Regions from separate parts of the Homo sapiens genome. Here regions 1, 3, 4 and 5 are each linked to region 2. The links are contacts of gene promoters, found by promoter capture Hi-C in blood cells and fetal thymus (Javierre and others, 2016). All regions are on one chromosome and are shown on one strand. The core of a region is centred on a gene start or on the middle of the fragment in contact, and the rest is flanking DNA. Distances in the headings are between cores, read along the strand shown. Region 1 overlaps CCSER2 (coiled-coil serine rich protein 2). Region 2 holds the start of LRIT1 (leucine rich repeat, Ig-like and transmembrane domains 1). Region 3 has its middle 230 kb from the start of CCSER2. Region 4 has its middle 270 kb from the start of CCSER2. Region 5 has its middle 280 kb from the start of CCSER2.

Region 1 (2,700 bases), core at 27-2,526, 270 kb before region 2:
TAGCCACATCCATTGTTAATTGTGGGCCTGATGAAAAAGGCTGCTCTTCCAAACCATAGTTGCTTTCTTGGTGCAAGACGTGTGTAAAGCTTTCTTCCGGATGTGCACCGCCCTGATGCATGTCTTGGATTGAGCATTCACTGCGGGCCTCGATACGTTGTGGCTTTATTAGTTTTCCCTGGGTGTGATCTGTGGGTCTGGGAAGGCTGCTGGAAGGCTGTAGTACTTGAGGCTGTTAAAATTAAAAACAACATTAGCAGCAAGTTCTTAGAAATTCCACCCAGATTTAATATAAATACCAATTAGGCTGTGTTGGTACTTATTATGGCTTTAATATGGAAAATATGTGGAGTTTCTTTTAATTAAAAAATGAACTGCAATATTCAAGCAAATTAGACACATACAAGAGTGATAATGCAAACAAAAAATGATACAGGCAGTAAACACTGAACAAGATCCAAAATTAAATGAGAAAAAGAAAACATTAAAGTACTAATTTATTATAGAAAAAATTCCTGCCATAATAGATTCATTAGGTATTTTAAACCTTAGAGCTTGACAGAATGATTCTACAGCTTTTGGTTTAACCTCCACAAAACATTCAGGTGTTAACGGTGACCTTCGGAATACTACTTACATTAAAGTTAAAAAAAAAAGTTGTACACCATGTTAACAAGTGTTGTTCTTCTGTCAAGAATGAAAAGCACCAGCAGATAAACAAGATTTAGAGTAAATCACTATATTCTCAGTTTATGTGAAATTCTATTTATTTAACAAATATAGGTCGAGACATTTAGCTAATGCTAACCTATTTTTAATATTCTTGTTGAAAAGTTTCCAAATAAAATGTTTCAAAGTTTATTTGTTCTGTCTCACTCCTATTATGGCTGACATGTGAAAAACAGATCTACCCTAATGAAAAGTAAACATTCATTTACTTAAATTTAGAATAATCAGCCTTTTGAATGATGGCTCAGAGTAAAACAAATGTGAAGTTGCCTCTAACTGCAACTAAAGAACAGAAGCCTATGACAAGGTTCTTAGGGTCTGTGTGCCTCACATGTACTTCCCTGAAGCTCATTGTGTAGTTATGTTTCAAAAACAATCAGAGGAACTATGCCATTTCCATGATTTGGGGGTATCCAGTAAAAAATACAAATCTGAAAGCTATCTTTCAATGGCCCAAATAGTTAAAATATATGGGCAGGGCCAACTGGGCCTGTCCTGATACAGGGGTATTTGCTACAAATGCATTATCTCTCTCCTCTCTCTCTCTCTCTCTCTCACACACACACACACACACACACACACACTGTTTAAATAATGTGGGCTAAAATGTCAAAAACTTTGGCAAAGGGCTTTACAACATGAAATTCAGAGGGCCATTTCTCACTAATAAGTTTTTTTTGCTATGCTAATCCACAAATAAATCTACATAGTAGCTCTAATTTCCCCAATAGAAGGGGCGGATCTATTTATACTGCATCATTTGTGTTTTTTTCAGTTCTTCCACCTCCCTGACCAGCACTGGACAATGGCTGCCCAGGATCAGCAGCCAGGGATTAGATTATGGCTGGATTGGGAGTGACTGAGGGCAAGGCTCATCAACTCATGGAGGATGGTTGGCTATGATGGCATACAGCTGACTTGCATTAAAAAAAAATCAAGACAGTGACTACTCAAAATTAATCTGTACAGAAATATGTCACATCAAATCGTATTGCAGAATGTTTGAAATAAACAAGTCAGCTCAATTGCTGCCTCAAGCTAAATATCCCAGACTTTAAAGTCACTGGGTATTTTCACAGCACATCAACACAAAAATGAATGAACTGTCCCGCAAAACGGAAGATACTAAAATCACCACATAATTAAATCAACAGATTCTCCCTGGGGTTCCCTAGATAAAAATGACCGTGCCAAAGTGATCAAAAACCTTGAAAGATTAGTGAAAAAATAGAGCAGGACCATATTAAACAAACCAAAATCTACCAAAGGGAATAAAAAGTAATTAGGAAGGAGGCACGATCAATTGGTTGGTTGAATGGGGATTTGTTTTTCCTTTTCACCCTCAAACATGGTAAGATATTCTAGTTCCAAGTTAAAACTCTTAAAGCAATTTAAGACTTCTGAAAATATCAGTGACAATTTAAAAATGGACTTTATTGTAATATGTCTATTGCCAATAAGAAAAAAGGTATAAACATGTGCTATCAGTGAAAAGCATAAAAAGATGATTTTTCAATTAAGACAGGTAATAAACTGATTATTAAGACAACCTACCTCCAGAAATGCCCAGGAAAGGGCCATTGTGCACTATAAATTTGTACTGTTTTGTACTCACCACTTGTACTGTTTTGATTACTCACAGTACCCAACTGACCACTGCTTATCAGAGAAATAAACGGAAATACAGCAGAGTCAGAAAGACAAGCTACTTGTATTAAATGCAATAAAGCTTCATATCAAATATTAATGAATTAGAAAACATCCAGTTTTTAAAGAATAACAAAATGTTGAGTCAACCGAGAGGAATTTAACAGTTTTATAAATAAATGTCTAAACTACAAGTTAGACATCTATACTACTAGTGAATTACATTAACTAAATCAGTGGTTTCTATATGCGAAATAAAATTTTATATTTTTATTAAAAATTAATTTTTGTGGCATGATATAATTTCCCTATCCCCAAATCAGT
Region 2 (2,700 bases), core at 187-2,686:
AATGAGTCGACTGAGTGTCTACTGCTGGGAATCATCCCTGGTCAGTCCCCACTGGCATCTTGAGTAGATATGGTGGGGCGAGATAGGGTTAGGAGAGAATAAGTAAAAATTGAAATTAGTCTGGGTGCAGTGGCTCAGGCCTGTAATCCCAGCACTTTGGGAGACTGAGGTAGGAGGATCGCTTGAGGCCAGGAGTTTGAGACCATCCTGGGCAACATGGCAAGACCCTGACTGCAAAAAATAATTTTTTAAAAATAGCCAAACATGGTGGTGGTTGCCTGCAGTTCCAGCTACTTGCGAGGCTGAGGCAGGAGGATGGCTTGAGCTCAGGAGTTCGGGGCTACAGTGAGCTATGATTACACCATTGCACTCCACTCTGAGTGACAGAGCAACCCTGTCCCTATAAAGCAAAACAAAGCTTTATGGATGGAGAATTTCCAAAGGCCCTTATTAGAGGTTGGGGTCCTGTCTCCAAAAAAACCTGAAAGTGCCTTCTCTAAGACCTCTCTGAGCTACCTCTCTGGGGCCCTCCTTGGAGTAGGGCACCTTGAGGAGAGGGGTGCCCTTGTCCCTTATGTGGAGACATCTCCACCTTTGGCATTCGTAGCAATGCCCAGAAGGGCTCAGCTGAAATAGTAGTGTGTTGAGTCCATATCCATGGGGCACTCAAGGCAGGCAGCTGTTTGCCTGGCAGCCTGGGACAGTTTGTGGGCTCATGAGAGACACCTCTGATGTCTCCCCAAAATATCTGAATCTGTCCAGTTCTTCTGTAAGTAGGGTCTTATAAGTACCAGTGAAACTGGGCACTTACAACTTGTGAGAGAGCTTCTGTTCCCACAGGCTGTCAAGGCCTTGGAATTTGAGTTTGATTTTCACAAACACCCTGCATGAAGTAACTTTATTTCTCTTTGTCAGATAAGGACACAGAGGCCAAGAGATAATGTGACTCACCCAAGGTCACAGCCCCTTAATGGAGCAGCTGGGATTTGACCCCAGGAAGCCTGGGTCCAGAGCTTAGCCTCCTTCCAATGCCTTTAGCACCATCAGGAAGAGTTGCTTCATTTCACTGCTTTTTTGCTATGAGACAGTGTCACAGGAAAGAATTTCCAAAGGCCCTTACTGAGGCGGGGGTTCTTTCTCCATCTTCCCTGGCACTCCAGTGGGGTCTGTGTTGTCCGTGGCCTTGTTGGGATGGGATGCTTTGCAGATGACAGTCCCATGGCTGCTCGCCTCTGGAAAGCTGCCTACTTGTCTTGCTTTGCTGTGCCCTGCCCTGGCCTCTCTGGGCCTGTGGATATTGCTATGGAAGGGGGTCCCCCGCCCCTACCCTCAGGACTGAGTGATTCAGAAAGCAATAAGCCTCTGAGTGCTGCGGCTGGGACTCCCCTCCCTAATCCCCAGTCTGTCCATGTTTATCCGATGGCCTCAGGAGGGGGTGTAAGGGGCTGGCGAGCAAGTGGGCAGCTGCTGAGCTTGCTGGGCCGGTGGGACGGAGCGGTCCAGGGACAGGCCCCTGCCTGGGCCAGAGAGGAGCCAGGAGCCATGAGGGTGGCATTAGGCATGCTCTGGCTCTTGGCCCTTGCGTGGCCCCCCCAGGCCCGGGGCTTCTGCCCCTCTCAATGCAGCTGCAGCCTCCATATCATGGGTGATGGCAGCAAGGCCAGGTATGGTACCGGGTGCGTGGGACGGGCAGCCCAGCCTCCATTGCTTTGCCAGCTAGGCTGGGTTGGGAGGAGTTGGAGCTGGGGCCCTGGGTGAGGTCTTCATCTCCCTTGGCCCTTGAGGACCAGGGATCCTATGGGGTGGACTGTGCTGCATTGTTTTCCAGCAGGCAAGGGGGTGACTCTATTCGAGAGGTACCAGGTATCTATACACATGGGCCCGAGGGTGAGGCACAAGTATGTCAGTTCTAAGAAGTCCTTCCTAAGTCCTCCTCCAGGCTCCTGGTGAAGAGCCCTCCTTAAAGGTCCAGGAAATCTCCTCCCTTACTGCTTTTTCTTCTCTTTTATTTTTTCTATTCCCTCTTCTTTTCTATATTTCCCCAGCCCCTTCTTTCCCAGGCCACTTGCACTCTCTTGCCTGACCTCTCTACAATATTCAATCATATCCCAGGCATTTCCTACAACCCCACCCATGATGGGACCACTTGCCTCTCATTCTCTTCCTCCTCTCCATCTTCGCTGGCCAGATCCCAGGAGCCTCAGCCTCAATACCTTTTTATGAGTGCTCCAAAAGCCAGGAGTGCCCATCCCATGACAAGCATGCTTCCTTCCATCCCCAGCCTTTTCCTTGACTTTCCCCACCCTCTGTCTGATCCCTCAGAGCACCTCCATTCTCTCCTCCTCTCCTTTCATGGGACATTCCCATGCCACTGTGGCTTGTGGACCCTTGCTCTTCCACTACTGCTCATTTTCTTCTTTTCTTTAGCAACGTTTAAATCATCTTTTCTCCAACTTCTTTAGCTTATCCATTAATGACCTCTGCATGGTTTCTGAGCCACTGATGGTTTCTGATCCTGGGAACAATGTTATTGGAGCTACCCTTTTAATAATCTTGGCAATGAATGTCGAGTTGATTGGGGGATGAGAGGAGAATGGAGAAGAACCACTAAGAAAAGACACCTCAAATGATCTGAGAACCAGAATGAGCTCCACTGTAGCCCAAGTGTCCAAGGCATCAACTCATATGAAGTGTAAGGGT
Region 3 (2,700 bases), core at 10-2,509, 310 kb before region 2:
CTTTTTAAAAAGAATGAAGCATTTATATGTGCTTGCACAGAAAAAATTCCAATTCATGTTTTTAAATGAATAGAGTAAAAGGATAAATAGTATATTTCTTATATGTATTAAAAAGGAAAGGATACAAATGTATAAATATTTACATATATTAATACACTATAATTATATAAACCTTTTAGGAAATATACACAGAAACTGTCAGTAGTGGCTACCTTTAAGGGATAGTACTGAAAATAGAAGAAGGCTTTTACCTTTTGTAGTGTTAAATTTACCGTGTGTATTTATTTATAGTGATTTATATATGTAAATCACACTCATATACACAATATACATATACAAAAACACATGTACACATTCATGCAGACGGTTCTTGCTTTAATGTCTAAACTTTGTAAAAAGGTTTCCATATACTTTTTAAATTTTGGCAGACACTTATAAAAAATAATGACTTGGGTTTTGGAATATTGATCTAATGTCCTACTTCTGGCAATGATTAGATAATAGTCCAATCCACCTCTAAGGACAGGCTTAATTCAGAGCAATAATACATTTCCTCCCATTTGGGAGCTTAGCCCTGCTTTAAGCAGGTGATCAAACTAACTGCAGAGTGGAGAGTCAAAGCAGGAGTCTAGTTCTGTGGGAATAAGGGTTCAGTTTATAAACTCTGGGCATCTATGGTTTGTTCAAGCAATTCACACACTATTCATCTTATAATTAATAGAGGTAAACCGGAGACTACAGATCATTGCCCACCACCTAGTACTTCTCTCGTTTTGCTTTTAGTCTTTTTCCTGATTCATCCCAGTCTTTCCTGGTTCCTGATTCTGAGTTCACTTTCTTATCTTTCTCTCTGCTTTCTCCTGACTTTTGCAACTTTAATAAAGTCTTGTTTTTTAGCTTGTCCTTCTTTAAGTACTTTGGTTCATTCTACTTTTAGCTGCATTTTGTAGGTAACCATCTCTACTCATTAGGATCCATTTACATTTTATAGTATTTACATTTGGCCATCACCAAGCCAAGCTGTACAGGCAAGAGAGTTTTGGTACTAATTATATCCAGGCCAAAATTTGCTTTATCTTAGACCACAGCAATCCCTAGTCTGCTCACAGGACAGCCCTGAGTAAAGGAATACAGGAACCTAGCATTTGCAGCCAGTTGAACAGACACAAGGAATAGTGACTATTGATTAATTCTACCAACCATACTTTCATCCATTATATTACTTGGGAAAAAAAAGAAAGAGAATTATCTTTTTTATTATTATTATTATACTTTAAGTTTTAGGGTACATGTGCACAACGTGCAGGTTTGTTACATATGTATACATGTGCCATGTTGGTGTGCTGCACCCATTAACTCGTCGTTTAGCATTAATTTATATATGACACAATAGTATTCCTTGAAGAGACTCATTTTAAAAGTACTGTTATGATGAATTCAAGTGAATGTGATTTGGTGACTGGATACAAGGCAATTATACAAAGATCACTATACTAGTTTGTTGTCATTGTGCTGGTTGTTGTTTTTCCTGCAGCAGTCAGAATTCTTTTTTTTTCCGAGACGGAGTCTTGCTCTGTCGCCCAGGCTGGAGTGCAGTGGCGTGATCTCGGCTCACTGCAAGCTCTACCTCCCGGGTTCACACCATTCTCCTGCCTCAGCCTCCCAAGTAGCTGGGACTACAGGCGCCTGCCACCGCGCCCAGCTAATTTTTTTGTATTTTTTTAGTAGAGACGGGGTTTCACCAAGTTAGCCAGGATGGTCTCAATCTCCTGACCTCGGGATCCGCCCACCTTGGCCTCCCAAAGTGCTGGGATTACAGGTGTGAGCCACCACGCCCAGCCCAGAATTCTTAATGTAAACAAATAAGTCAAGCTATTTTAAACAGAAATAAAATGTGTTAAAAGACAGGAAAACTCTGGAAGGACCAGAAAATCAGACCTGGTATTTCATCAGAGAAGGGCCCCCAAATTACTCCACAGAACTGAAACAGTGGAGTCACCATTGCCATCCTCCCTGGGCACAGACATTGCAGCTTGCCTCATTGACCCAATGGATGTAAAGCACTGTCTGTCACAATGAGAAAATCTGCCTCTGCAGGCTTCACGTATCTGCCACAAACCCTACCAGAATGCTTCGGTATTTCTTTCTATGTTATTAGCTTCTGAATCAAAGTCTGGAAAAGTATAACTAAGTGGCAAAGCCAGAGTCAAATGCCTAATTTTCAGCTACAAGGGAGGCTAGGAAATATCCATGGAGGAGATAGTCTTTACCTCTCACCATGATACATAAAGTGGGAAATTCCTCAAGCACAGGAAATATATCCAATGCTTCTGGATGGCCAAAGAGAATGAGAAATGTCTACTGTAGTTCACTCCTTTAACTGTCCAACACAGCACATGACCTTCTTCTATACTTAATCTTCCCAATCACACAACAGTAATGGTCTCATCTGAAATAATAAAACTACCCCCAGAAATATGTACTCATGTTCCCTAAAGCAATGCCTTATTGGGTATTTTACCCAGCTCCATATCTAGGCTCACTGTGTAATGCCCAATCCTTTTCTAGTTCTATATATTGATATTCTGTACACAATGCCCCACATAAAATAACATCAAAAAGAAGATGGATAAAAAATATAATTAAAATATATTATCATATGTATGACACACCAAGGAAAAAATGCCTATATTTAAACTT
Region 4 (2,700 bases), core at 102-2,601, 350 kb before region 2:
TGCAATAGTTTGCCATTACTTTATGCACACATGCATGAATAAATGCGCATCAAGCTCTGACTGCAGGGCAGGTCCTGTGCTAGGCACTGGGGAAAGATGCCATTTCTGCCACTGCAAACCAGAAAATGAGCAATGCCAAGTTGATCTTCCCAAAGACCATCACTAACTTGTCACTTTCCTACTCTGAATTTCTAGAAAGGGGCTGGGCACGGTGGCTCACGCCTGTAATCCCAGCATTTTGGGAGGCAGAGGCGGGTGGATCACGAGGTCAGGATCCTGGCTAACATGGGGAAACCCCATCTCGACCAAAAATATAAAAAATTAGCCAGGCATGGTGGTGGGCGCCTGTAGTCCCAGCTACTAGGGAGGTTGAGGCAGGAGAATGGCCTGAACCCAGAAGGTGGAGCTTGCAGTGAGCCAAGATCGTGCCACTGCACTTCAGCCTGGGCAACAGAGCGAGACTCTGTCTCAAAAAAAAAAAAAAAGAATTTCTAGAGAGGTCGCCTTATCTCATGGACTAGCTCAATACCTAAAGGAGTTATTAAGACAGAAACTAACTAGTGTTAGTACCTCCTTGCCCAATCTCCACTCCAGGAAAGATAGCCCAGCTTTATTTCTAAAACTCTGAGCTCTCCTTATCTTTACCTCTCCCTACTCTTGGAGAAGCTTAAGAGTTTTGTGTGAGTGTGAGTGTGTGTGTGAATGCAATCCTAAACTAAAGCTGGTCATGTAAAAGGAGGGGATGAAGGTGAAAACTTTCAGGATAAAAGCAGAAGCCAGCAGACAGGAAGTTTTTTTGTTTGTTTGTTTGTTTGTTTTTTGAAATGGAGTCTTGCTCTGTTGCCCAAGCTGCAGTGCAGTGTCGCAGTCTCGGCTCACTGCAAGCTCTGCCTCCTGGGTTCACACCATTCTCCTGCCTCAGCCTCCCGAGTAGCTGGAACTACAGGCGCCCGCCACCATGGCCTGCTAATTTTTTTGTATTTTTAGTAGAGACGGGATTTCACTGTGTTAGACAGGATGGTCTCGATCTCCTGACCTCATGATCTGCCCGCCTCGGCCTCCCAAAGTGCTGGGATTACAGGCATGAGCCACTGCGCCAGGCCCTGAGAGGAAGTATTTTTGCCAGAAGGAGGGGACAATTACTCCTCAGCTGTATTAGGTAGCCAGAGGAACAATCGTGATCACATGAGAAAGAGGAACCTGGGTCCTCTCTAAATTTTTCCGACACCAGATAAGCTTCAGATCCTTTGATGACACCATGGTGGAGAGGAAGAAGTCTCATTAGTAATTGCTACTGGGTATCCTCCCAGCCAGATAGGTGAAGTCTGAGAGCAAATTTAATCTGATTAAGAGAAATAAAGGAATATGGCATGTCATACCCTGTTGCTGTGAAATAAGATTTATACCAAAGGTCAAAACTCCTTGACTGAATGCTTACAGCTCTCCATGACCAGATACAAGCTTGAGTCTCCAACTTAGCCCACCTCTCCACTACCTAACATCTAGGTAACATCTATACCATGTTCAAGCATCGCCTAAAAGTGTCCTCTTATTTCAATTTTTTTGGATTAGTAACTCCCATCCCTGTGCAACACTTGTTGCAGACGTCTTTCTAAATGTCTTATCTTCTTTTTAGAGGAACCAACTGCTGAGTGCCCCTCAGCAGAACTCATCTCCTGACTAATATTCCACAATTTAGAAGCCACTACAGCCGGAAATGTATCCATGTCTACTACATAAAAGATGTCAATAGTCACTGGTCACTAACAAGAGGAGGGGGAGGGGGCATGAAGCCCACCTACCAAGCGGACTGGCATCCTCAGTCGGCCTCACGCCAGCTGTGTTCCTTGGGCAGGTTAATCTCTCTTACCCACCTCAAAATACTGTTATGAAAAATGAGATGATGTATGTAATTATTGAAAAAGAGGCCCACACATAAAGTGCCCCAAGGATGCAAGAGTCCCTCCCACTGAAAACAGTGATCAGCAAAGAAAATGGGAATAAGATGCCATGGTGATAAAGGGAAGACTCAGATTCAGAGAAAACTTAGAGACAGTGCTAAAAATGCAGATGCAATGACCAAGGTGACAGAAAAAAGAAAGCTACGCAGGGCACCGCCAAGTAGAAACTATGGAGAATCTATAGACCCACATGGCCGAGGGCGGTGGCTCACGCCTGTAATCCCAGCACTTTGGGAGGCGAGGCGAGTGGATCACGAGGTCAGGAGATTGAGACCATCCTGGCTAACACGGTGAAACCCCACCTCTACTGAAAATACAAAAATATTAGCCTGGCATGGTGTTGGGCGCCTGTAGTCCCAGCTACTCCGAAGGCTGAGGCAGGAGAATGGCGTGAACCCGGGAGGTGGAGCTTGCAGAGAGCGGAGATCGCGCCACTGCACGGCAGCCTGGGCGACAGAGCAAGACTCTGTCTCAAAAAAATAAAAATAAAATAATAGACCCACACGCAGGGTAGGTCACCAAGTCCGTGACATGAAGCCCACTCCGGGAACTTGGGGCCACTTTTTAATTCTCACCCTGCGCTCCCCACACACCTGTGCCTCGCCAGTGTGACCCACGCTTTGGTCTTCCTCTCTGTGCCATCTGCAGACTCCAACTGACATTTTTTTCTGGCCCAACCTATTTGTGTCTGATAATCTTATACATGGGTCTCAGGCATGAGCAAAAAGGTTTAAACAGG
Region 5 (2,700 bases), core at 178-2,677, 370 kb before region 2:
GGACTTGCTGACTGGAGGTCAGAGCTGAGAATGGCAGTCCCCCAGTTCCCCCAAGAAAGACACGTTGCCTCTGTACCTTGACAAGACCCATGATCAGCAACGAATTCACTGGCCACCTACTCTGTTGGCTGTTGGATTTGAAGACAGGGCAAAAGATAACACACAGACACACATATTTTGTTTAAATTGGGCTTTGCCCAACTCACAGAATTACCTAGGCAAGGCATAAGAGCCACAGCCCTGGCTGTTCCTCTGTGGCTGAGACAACACTGACATCTTGTGGTCTTGAATTCAGCCAGCCCTAAGCGTCACAGGCCAGAGTCTACCCAGCCCTGCCAGGAGGAGCTTTTCCCAGCCCTACAAATGGGAATGGATCCATTCTGTGTGGACTCTGCCTGCAGGGGGCTCATGGTTTAGCAGGACACCCAAGTAACCAACCATGTGCACACACTGGGTGACACAGACAGCGCCTGGCATCTGACCAGCCGCACACACACACTCAACCCAGACAGCAAATACTCAGCGTGCAACACTGCGGGCAGCTCCAGAACTGGCGTTAAATAAGAAGCATGCAGACAATTACAATACAGTGAGAAAGGTGCCGATTAAGGTATGAATAACAGCTGTGGGAACACACAAGCAGAGTGGACAGACAGCCAGAGGATACGGTAAGCCTTCAGAAATGACATAAGATCAGGAACACAAAAGATACTGTGGAGTAATCAAGGAAGCAAGGTGCGGAATGATTAAGTCAGAATTTCCCAGCGTCACAGAATAGATTCAGTTTAGAGGTGGAGTGCTAAGCCCCGGGAGATGGCTTCTACAGCATGAGAGGGGATCGACAGGGTTCATTTGGGGAGAAGCAAGAGTGCGAGTGAGAGACACAGAGAGGGAAAGCGTAAAAGACAAGTCTGTAAAGATAGACAGCCTTGAATGCTAGAATAAAGCGTTCACGTTATTCAATTGCTGAAAGTCACGTTATAACGCTGTATTTAAGAAGAAATGATCTGGCAAAGATAAAGCATGAACTATAAGCACAAGACAAAGACTGGAAAGATGCTCCCCCTCGTGTCAGCAGGGGCTGTCCCTAGGAAAGAGGACTATAATGCTTATTCCTGTCATTTTTCTTTTTTTTTCTATTGTTACATATTTTAATACTTTGGTAATGAAAGAAATGACGATCAAGCTATTGCCATATGAAGCAGATGGATGATAAGAGTGGGAGCCTGGCCACTCGCATAGTCATGGTCAGTTTCCTTCAGGAGGAAGCTCCTTCCCAAAAGCAGACAGGACAACAGGGCTATGTGAGACTCCGGATCAGAATCTCAGCATCTGTCTAACTGGGAGGACCCTTAGGTATCTACTCAACCCCCTGCTGCAGACAAGGGCTGGGGCTCTTGGAGAGGAAGTGGCTCCCCCCGGGACACACAGCCCTTCCTAGACCTCAGGATTCAGGCTCAGCTCCTGATTCCCTCTCAGGGCCCCCTCCTCTTCCCTTCCCACCGCTGCTCACCTCCTCTCATTATCTGTATAGCCAGAAGCCACCACAGCATGGCCAGGACCCAGAGCTTCACGAGGGCCCTCAGGTAGCAGCCAAGCCAGGGCTGCAGCAGCACGTCTGCCTTTCCACAGGTCAAGGCTAAGACATACTGTAAAGCTCCACCTGAAAAAGAAAGCAATGAAATACCAGGACCTGGCAGGGCACGGTGGCTTACACCTGTAATCCCAGCACTTTGGGAGGCCGAGGTGGATGGATCACCTGAGGTCGGGAGTTCGAGACCAGCCTGACCAACATGGAGAAACCCCGTCTCTACTAAAAACACAAAATTAGCCAGGTGTGGTGGCGCAAGCCTGTAATTCCGGCTACTTGGGAGGCTGAGGCAGGAGAATCGCTTGAACCTGGGAGGCAGAGGTTGTGGTGAGCCGAGATTGCGCCATTGCACTCCAGCCTGGGCAATAAGAGTGAAATTCTGTCTCAAAAAAAAAAAAAAAAATACCAGGACTTATTTTTTAAAAATGTAAGGACCGGGCACAGTGACTCACACCTGTAATACCAGCACTCTGGGAGGCCAAGGCAGGTGGGTCACCTGAGGTCAGGAATTCAAGACCAGCCTGGCCAACATGGTGAAACCCCCGTCTCTAATAAAAATACAAAAAATTATCTGGGCATGGTGGTGGGCACCTGTAATCCCAGCTACTCAGGAGGCTGAGGCAGGAGAATCGCTTGAACCCAGGAAGTGTAGGTTGTGGTGAAACGAGATCTCACCATTGCACTCCAGCCTAAGCAACAAGAGTAAAACTCCATCTCAAAAAAAAAAAAATTAAATTCTTGAGTACACATGCAGGATGTGCAGGTTTGTTACATAGGTAAATGCGTGTCATGGTGGTTTGCTGCACCTATCAACCCATCACCTAGGTATTAAGCCCAGCATGCATTAGCTATTTTTCCTAATGCTCTCCCTCCCCACACCCCACCTGCCGACAGGCCCCAGCATGTGTTGTTCCCGTCCTTGTGTCCATGTGTTCTCATTGTTCAGCTCCCACTTATAAGTGAGAACTTCCAAATACCAGAACTTTTATGTTATTTCAGCCAGTGGTTCTCAAAGTGTGTTTCAGAAACCCATGGAAGTACCCATGACCCTTCCATGGAGTCTGTAAACGCAAACTATTTGCATAAAAATACTAAGTACAATCTAGCTT

Evidence for each region. Contacts are between HindIII fragments. The CHiCAGO score rates a contact against its expected background, and 5 or more counts as called.
Region 1: a fragment that was not itself captured here is called in contact with the fragment with the promoter of LRIT1 in region 2 in 1 of 17 cell types (activated CD4 T cells); the score reaches 6.9 in activated CD4 T cells.
Region 3: a contact is called between a fragment that was not itself captured here and the fragment with the promoter of LRIT1 in region 2, in 2 of 17 cell types (naive CD8 T cells and total CD8 T cells). The highest score is 6.3, in naive CD8 T cells.
Region 4: a contact is called between a fragment that was not itself captured here and the fragment with the promoter of LRIT1 in region 2, in 3 of 17 cell types (non-activated CD4 T cells, activated CD4 T cells and M2 macrophages). The highest score is 6.0, in non-activated CD4 T cells.
Region 5: a fragment that was not itself captured here is called in contact with the fragment with the promoter of LRIT1 in region 2 in 1 of 17 cell types (naive CD8 T cells); the score reaches 5.5 in naive CD8 T cells.

Annotation. Positions count from the first base shown.
Region 1 is chr10:84,510,981-84,513,680 of GRCh38, reverse strand. CCSER2 (coiled-coil serine rich protein 2) reads right to left here. Exons shown (of 10, transcript NM_001284240.2): 10 at 1-232. Among named protein-coding and RNA genes, the nearest start is that of CCSER2, 180 kb to the right of the region's middle. RefSeq lists a silencer at 1,002-1,202. The HindIII fragment of the contact is 2,369 bases long and covers 92-2,460 here.
Region 2 is chr10:84,240,282-84,242,981 of GRCh38, reverse strand. It overlaps LRIT1 (leucine rich repeat, Ig-like and transmembrane domains 1), which reads left to right and starts at 1,436. Exons shown (of 4, transcript NM_015613.3): 1 at 1,436-1,664. The coding sequence starts at 1,543. The HindIII fragment of the contact is 15,150 bases long and covers 421-2,700 here.
Region 3 is chr10:84,553,232-84,555,931 of GRCh38, reverse strand. No RefSeq gene overlaps it. Among named protein-coding and RNA genes, the nearest start is that of CCSER2, 230 kb to the right of the region's middle. The HindIII fragment of the contact is 8,206 bases long and covers 1-2,700 here.
Region 4 is chr10:84,594,099-84,596,798 of GRCh38, reverse strand. No RefSeq gene overlaps it. Among named protein-coding and RNA genes, the nearest start is that of CCSER2, 270 kb to the right of the region's middle. The HindIII fragment of the contact is 225 bases long and covers 1,239-1,463 here.
Region 5 is chr10:84,611,169-84,613,868 of GRCh38, reverse strand. No RefSeq gene overlaps it. Among named protein-coding and RNA genes, the nearest start is that of CCSER2, 280 kb to the right of the region's middle. The HindIII fragment of the contact is 5,833 bases long and covers 1-2,700 here.